2 separate regions of the Homo sapiens genome follow, and region 1 is linked to region 2. Evidence: promoter capture Hi-C in 16 types of primary human blood cells and fetal thymus (Javierre and others, 2016). All regions are on one chromosome and are shown on one strand. The core of a region is centred on a gene start or on the middle of the fragment in contact, and the rest is flanking DNA. Distances in the headings are between cores, read along the strand shown.

The links. The method cuts DNA at HindIII sites, captures the fragments that hold promoters and counts their contacts. A CHiCAGO score of 5 or more calls a contact.
Region 1: a fragment that was not itself captured here is called in contact with the fragment with the promoter of CD38 in region 2 in 1 of 17 cell types (monocytes); the score reaches 5.7 in monocytes.

Annotation. Positions count from the first base shown.
Region 1 is chr4:13,602,075-13,605,984 of GRCh38, forward strand. It overlaps BOD1L1 (biorientation of chromosomes in cell division 1 like 1), which reads right to left. Exons shown (of 26, transcript NM_148894.3): 10 at 1-3,010. Among named protein-coding and RNA genes, the nearest start is that of BOD1L1, 24 kb to the right of the region's middle. The HindIII fragment of the contact is 731 bases long and covers 1,753-2,483 here.
Region 2 is chr4:15,776,476-15,779,975 of GRCh38, forward strand. CD38 (CD38 molecule) reads left to right here and starts at 1,853. Exons shown (of 8, transcript NM_001775.4): 1 at 1,853-2,172. The coding sequence starts at 1,940. RefSeq lists enhancers at 1,638-2,280, 1,692-2,191 and silencers at 2,322-2,371, 2,562-2,611. The HindIII fragment of the contact is 6,782 bases long and covers 1-3,500 here.

The DNA of each region.
Region 1 (3,910 bases), core at 868-3,367, 2.2 Mb before region 2:
TTGTGAGGAAGGTTTCACTTTCAGCAAATCCCTCTGTGACAACAGCCCCACCTTCTTCAGCTGCAGCAAAAACAGTGCATTCACTGGCTTCTGCACCAACATGAAGAGGATTATTTCTGGAATGTGTTCCTATTATGAGGCCTTCATCTGCCTCAATGCTGGTGCAAGGCAAAGCCACCTCACTTTGTCTTGTTTCTGAAGAAGTGGTTGTGGCAGGCCCAGCCTTCACTGGACTTAAGGTGACATCTTTGTCCTTCCCTTCAGTACTAGTGGCAACAGAAGTCTTTTCTGCTCTCCTAGGCCCAGTTGCCACATCCTCAGTTTGTCCGTTCCTTTGGTGTAAAACAGAGGGTGCAGAGCCACTTCCAGCACTGGTGTCTACCTCACTGTTTTCATTCCTTCTTTCAACATCAATTGATATGTCTTTTACTTTACCTGGGCTTCTTTTATGCTTAAGTTTGACAGTTTCAGCATATTTTTCTGTATTCAGGCCTACAACATGATCAACAGCAATGCCATCCTTCTTGCCATTCTCTACTGTTGCTTTAATTGTCTGCTTTAAATTGGGCTCTGCATTTAAGTCATTTTCTTTCTTGGCCATGTCCACTAAGCCACCTTCTTTGGTAATATTCTCATTTTCCACAATCACGCCCGTTAACTTACTTCCAAGAGGCATGATTACCTTTCCTTGTTTACCATCCAATAAAGTAGCCTGGTGAGCTTCTGGAATGTGTCTTTTGCTAGTGATGCTTGCTTTTGCTGGTGTATCTACTGTGAAACCTTCACCACCTTCTTTGCTGTCACTTGTCTTAAGGACTTCTGATTCCCTAACAGTCAGACTTTGGTTAGGGAGAGCAGAGTGATCCGCAGGGGAGGTGCTGGCTGTGCTACCTTCCAAAACAGTTCTTTTGTCAAACAGAGGAATTACATCTGGATCATACGATTCCCTCAGAGGCACAACAGTCACTGAACTTAAGGATGGTGAGGAGTCTAAATTTGTGGAATGTTCAAGAGTGGCATCTCCTTGAGCAACATGTTCTTCAGCAGCTGTGTTTTTCAAATTCTTCTGTACCCTATCATTTTCTGATGGGGCACTCAGTAACATTCTATGAACAGTTTCAGAATCTATATTCACTTCAGTAGTTCCTCTATGAATGGGTTCTTTCTCCCCAGGGTTCATTTTGGACACAGCACTTTGTATATGCATTTTCTTGGTCAAGGTGCTTCTATGATCGGCATGCTTTTCAGAATTACTATTAACTCCTGTTCCACGGCCTGGCTTATAAGCTGGAGCTGTTGCTTTTGAATCTGCTGTGCAAGTTCTCAATTCATCCTTTTGAACAGTGGCAGAAGTTTTTTGTTTCATATTTTCAGAGTCAATGTCTTGCTGAGAATTATTATTGCGGTTGTCTTGGGTTTTAGATACTTCAAACACATTTTCAACACCTGGCTCAGAATCAATTTCCATTGGCTCTTGTTCAGGGATCAATGTCATATCACCACTCTTTTTTGGTCTCTGAAGGGAGGAACCGCTGGGAGTGCTCAAAGTGTTTGCTGCTAATTTTTCTTCTCCTTTGGCCATTTCTTGTGACAAGCTTCCTCTCCGATTTTCGCACAACCTTCTACTTAATTTCTTTTCCATGAGTGAACTATTACCTCTGGCCTTTTCATGACTACTGTCAACTTCTTTACCATCCTTGTCATCTGATTTATTTTCGTCCTTCTTTTTTATGTCTTTACTACTATGCTTTAAGCTTCTGCTTTTGTGGCCATCTGACAACTTTCTCTCAAGCCTGGTGGAAGTGGAGTCTTTATCACTCTTATATTTCTCCTTTGCTAATGGTAACTTGGCTCTATGACTAGAATCCTTCTGTGTACTATGTGCTGAAGAAGAAGCAGTCTCTAATACAGGTTCAACACCAGTTTCTTCAAAAGGTTTGTCTTCAACTTTAGACTTACGCTGTTTTTCTGAGTCATTTTCTTCTGTGTTCTTCTCCTTGTCTGGTTTTGGAGTGGTTGCCTGTTTTGTGGCACCTTCTTGTAATTCTGTTTCTACAACTTTTACCTGTTTGCCTTGAGTTTTTGATTTAGACTTCAACACAAGTTTCTCTTCTAACAAGCTCTTTGTTCGTCGTTTCTCCTTGTGAACAACCTCTTCTGGTTTCAAATTACTATCCATGTTAGTGGAGTCCATATCACACTTATCTTCCGAATAACTTTCACTTCTTCTCTGTAATGTGATACCATGTTGCTTGGAACCCAGAGAATCTTTCTGAATTTTAGAATCACTTGACCTTCTTGATTTGTGCTCTGCCTTAGTTTTTTCAGCTGACAAGCGTCTCTCTTTTTTGTTGTTTTCTTTACGAACATTCTCATCTGTTTTTATAATATATTCAGAAACTGGCTTTCCATCTTTGCCTAATACTGATAATTTCCTTTCATTCCTATGTTTACTTTTTCGTTCGGTTTTATCATCTGAAGAAAGCTTTGTTTGTTGACTTTGCTTTTGAATATTTTCCTCTACTTTTAAACCTTTCTCAGAAGAGTGAAGCTCAGTCTCATCACCTGTTTTATGCATACAATCACCTTTATATTTATGTTTCACAGACAATTTGTCTTCCGATGGAGTTTTCTCTCTTTCAGGCTTCTCCTTGGAGGATTTCACCTCTTTCTTAAGTAGGCTTTTCAAATGTGGTGTTTCAGAATCATCTTTCTTTAGATGCTTTTCGTTTTTAAGTGTGCTTTTCTGTTTCTGGGGCTCTTCGGTGCAAATTTCTGAGCGTTCTACTTGCCTTTTTACATCTCTTGTGTCAGTCTCTTCCTGTACCCCCTCCATGATAACAGGGGTAGATGTCCGTCTTTTATGTTCTCTTTCTAATTTGGATTCATTTTTGTTTTCGTCAACTACATGCAAAGACTCTGAAAGTCTCCGGGCAGGTTTACTTGGTTCACTTTTTGCATGAACATGCTTCAGCTCCTTTGAAGAAGAAATTTTTTCCTTTTCACAATGCTGAAAGAAAACAAAGGTTAAAATATGAGAAATACCAAAATCAATTTTTAGATTAAAACATAACATTTGGGTGGATTTAATATGTTGAGTGCTGTCACATATGTAACATCTCACTTAATTCTTACAAACAGCCTGTGTAGGTGTCAAAAACTCACCTGATTTTAAAAAATAAGTATTATTAACTTGATTTTAAGAAGCTAAATTCTTCAAAGAACTAACAGGAGTTTGCAACAACCATATTTTACAATAAAAAAACTAATTCTAAACAATATGAACAATTTTATGAGATTATTTCTCATAGAGATTTATCACAAAATAAAGTTAAATACTTAAAAATATGCCATTAAAACATCAGGAAATTGTAGCTCAGCATGATTCTATAACTTGACACTCAGACCACAAGTAGGTGTGTTAGGAATGAGTTTAGATTATTTCATTCCGAGTCTAGTACTCCTTCCAGTATATCACAGGCACTGATTTGTCTATGAATTCTTCAATTCTGAATCACTAGAACTCACTAATGCCCAGTACTCAATAATAAATATGAGCTGAATAAATGACAGTCAAATGTCCTTTTCAGTCAAAAACATAATACATGAAGGCAATTTAAAATTGAAATATACTGAAATATAGATTTCCTATATTTTAATTTAAAAAGCTGAATTATGTATGGAAACCTCATGAATTTAGGCTACTTGTACAATATTCTACACATGAAGCTTCAAATGTACACAATAACGCACAGTAACCATATCATATATAACATATGTATATGTTTATGTATTCAAAAAAAGATACGGAGAGACAAGAGCATCTAAACCTTCCTTCTGGCCCTGTGGTTTGGCACTAAGTAGGCGATTAATATTAATGAGTGGAGGTTGACTAAATCCACTTCAATAA
Region 2 (3,500 bases), core at 603-3,102:
TAGCCAACAAACATATGAAAAAAAGCTCAACATCATTGATCATTAGAAAAATGCAAACCAAAACCACAATGAAATATCATCTCATGCCAGTCAGAATGGTGATCATTAAAAAGTCAATAAACAACAGATGCTGGTGAGGTTGTGGAGAAATAGGAACACTTACACTGTTGATGGGAGTGTAAATTAGTTCAACCATTGTGGAAGACAGTATGGGGATTCCTCAAAGATCTAGAACCAGAAATACCATTTGACCCAGCAATCTCATTACTGGGTATATACCCAAAGGAATATAAATCATTCTGTTATAAAGATACATGCATGCATATGTTCATTGTAGCACTATTCACAATAGCAATGACATGGAATCAACCCAAATGCCCATCAATGACAGACTGGATAAAGACAATGTGGTACATATACACCAGGGAATACTGTGCAGCCACAAAAAGGAACGAGATCATGTCCTTTGCAGGGACATGGATGGAGCTGGAAGCCATTATCCTCAGCAAACTAACACAGGAACAGAAAACCAAGCACTGCATGTTCTCACTTATAAGTGGGAGCTGAACAATGAACACAGGGAGGGGAACAACACACACTGGGGCCTGTTGGGGAGAGTGGAGGGAGGGAGAGCATCAGAAAGAATAGCTAAAACATGAGGGGCTTAATACCTAAGCAATGGATTGATAGGTGCAGCAAACCACCATGGCACACATTTACCTATGTAACAACTCTGCACGTCCTGTACATGTATCCCAGAACTTAAAACAAAATAAAAAAGATAAAAAATAAATAAAACACACAGTCCAAAAAGTCATCCTGTCTTACAGAGCTATGGGTGATCTGGTCTCCTGCTACTTTCCGAACTTCTGTTCTGTTTCCCTCAACCCTCTAGCCTAACTACAATTGGCCTCCTTGCTGCTCTGGAACAGGCCAAGAGCTTTTCTGCCTCAGAGTCTTTGCACCTGCCATTTCCTCTGCTTGGGAAATGTTTGCCCCAAGGGAGTTGGGTGACTTGATCGCTCACATTACTTAGGTCTCTGCTTGAATGTCACAGATGTTCTCTTAATAAAGAAGAGGCAAGAAAAGCCACTTTATTATTTATTAAACTCCCGCATAGAGTGCAGTATTATTACTGTGTGCCAGACCCTGCTTCAAACACATTCCATGGACTATAAAATTGCATCTCTGAGCAGCTCCTAGAGCTGGTAGTAACAACTTACATTTACTGGGTGATTACCATGTGCCAGGTATTGTGCTAAACACGTTGTAGATATTAACTCACTTAATCCTCGTAACAATCCCATGAAGTAGGTACTGCTACTATCCCGGCTTTACATCTGAAGTACAGAGAGGTTAAGTAACTTGCCCCATGTCATCCAGCAAGAACTAAATTTGAACCCAGAGCTTAGCCACTGATGCCTCTTGAGAGAAGGAGTCAGACTTAAGTTGAGTCTTTAAAGGTGGTTGACCAGGCATTTGTCAGAGTTAAGAAAGAGAGGTAGGACATCCTTTTCCAGGCAGAGGGCATTGTGTGCACACACGTATAGAAGCAGGCAGCCCACCCTCATGCTTTCCAGGAAGCAAATGTGGCTCAGGTGTAAAGTGCCCGGTTGATGAAGGGAGTTAGCGGAGGGAGTATAAGGATGTACTGTCTGCCCCCTTAGGACACCTGCAGAGGATTAAGGTGGCTGTTTCTCCCTGGAGGTGGAGTGGGTGGGTCACTGCACAGGAGCCTATAGTTGTTGGTCTTTTAAACTCTTATTGGTGTAACCAGCCACGGAACTCTGAGGCAAGGGGTTGGGGGTGGGAAGGGAAACAGAGAAAAGGCAAGTGAAACAGAAGGGGAGGTGCAGTTTCAGAACCCAGCCAGCCTCTCTCTTGCTGCCTAGCCTCCTGCCGGCCTCATCTTCGCCCAGCCAACCCCGCCTGGAGCCCTATGGCCAACTGCGAGTTCAGCCCGGTGTCCGGGGACAAACCCTGCTGCCGGCTCTCTAGGAGAGCCCAACTCTGTCTTGGCGTCAGTATCCTGGTCCTGATCCTCGTCGTGGTGCTCGCGGTGGTCGTCCCGAGGTGGCGCCAGCAGTGGAGCGGTCCGGGCACCACCAAGCGCTTTCCCGAGACCGTCCTGGCGCGATGCGTCAAGTACACTGAAATTCATCCTGAGATGAGGTGGGTTGGCGACTAAGGCGCACCGGTGGGCACTGCGGGGACAGCAGGGCCCCGCGCGCAGGGAAGCCGCCCGGATCGCCCGGAACCGGGCATCTTCCGTGGCGGGTCAGCCGAGAGCCCGCCGGGTGGTGCTGAGTAGGGAGTCCCGGGCTCGGGGCTCCGCGGGCCGCTTTCAGGAGCAGCTGGCCTTGGCACCGAGCGTGCCCGCGGGAGGCGGGGGGGGGCGCTGCTCGGTGGCTCTGCTGCGTAGCCGGTGAACACTTGGCACCGATGCCCGCCTTCTGGGCAAGGTGCCCTGAGCCCAGCCCCTCGCCGGGCTGCAGCCCACCCTCGGCGCGCTCAGCCCGCTTCACCGCTTCAGGGACGGAATAGAACTCGCAGATGCAGGGTGTCGCTGACATTTTCAACTTTTTCTGCGGTTTCCGCCCGCTGTCTCTGACCCGAAAGTGCCCCCGGACGGTTACAGAGGACACTTAAGTGGTTTGCAAAGCCTGTGGTAGGGGAGGAGGGTGTAGAAGGGCCAAACCACGGAACTTAGTTTTATTCATTTATATAAAGCAGCACTCCGATTCTTTTTGCGCGGCCTGAAATGCATGTGACCAGAGAAGTAATTAACAAAACAATGTCAACTTCTAAAACCGAGACATTACTTAGATGATAAGGCGCAGCAACTCGGTGAATCTGTACAAACCTTGGAAAAAAAACACATTAGTCTATGGGACCTTCCAGTTTTCTCATGCTCCTTTCCAGCTACTAACCTCTCCTAAAGGGAACAACCACTTTTTGGATTTGATTCCCAGGCCTCGCTTTCACCGGGAAATTATCGTTGCTTGTAAAACAGAAGAAGCCGGGAAGGCAGGCAGGGGGAGCTGCTACTTTACACTCTGTGCTTTGGGATAGCAAAATCCCGCATTTAAGCAATCCGAGGAAACGAGCAAATAGACCTCCCTCGCCTCTCCGAGCACACTCAACAGTTCCGGTTGCAAAATGTTTGCCTCCTGGGCTTCCCAGCGTCCCGTTAGTTGTTCTATTTACACATAATTAGATACTTAATGGAGAGAGAAACTAGAAGTTGAGGCGTTCCTCCAGGCTGTATTGTAAAGTATGAAGTGAAATCCAAAATGAAATGGTAATGTTAGAAAGCAACCTCATTAAAAAAAAAAAAAGTAACACTGGTCTTGAAGATCTTTCAATGTGAGTACATAAAGATCTATCTCATTTCTTTTGACAGCCCATAGTATTTCATAAACTAGATGTAACCATTTCCTATTGACAGGAAATTAGCTTGTTTCCAATTTTTCAATCCCATTCATTCATCCAACAAGTAT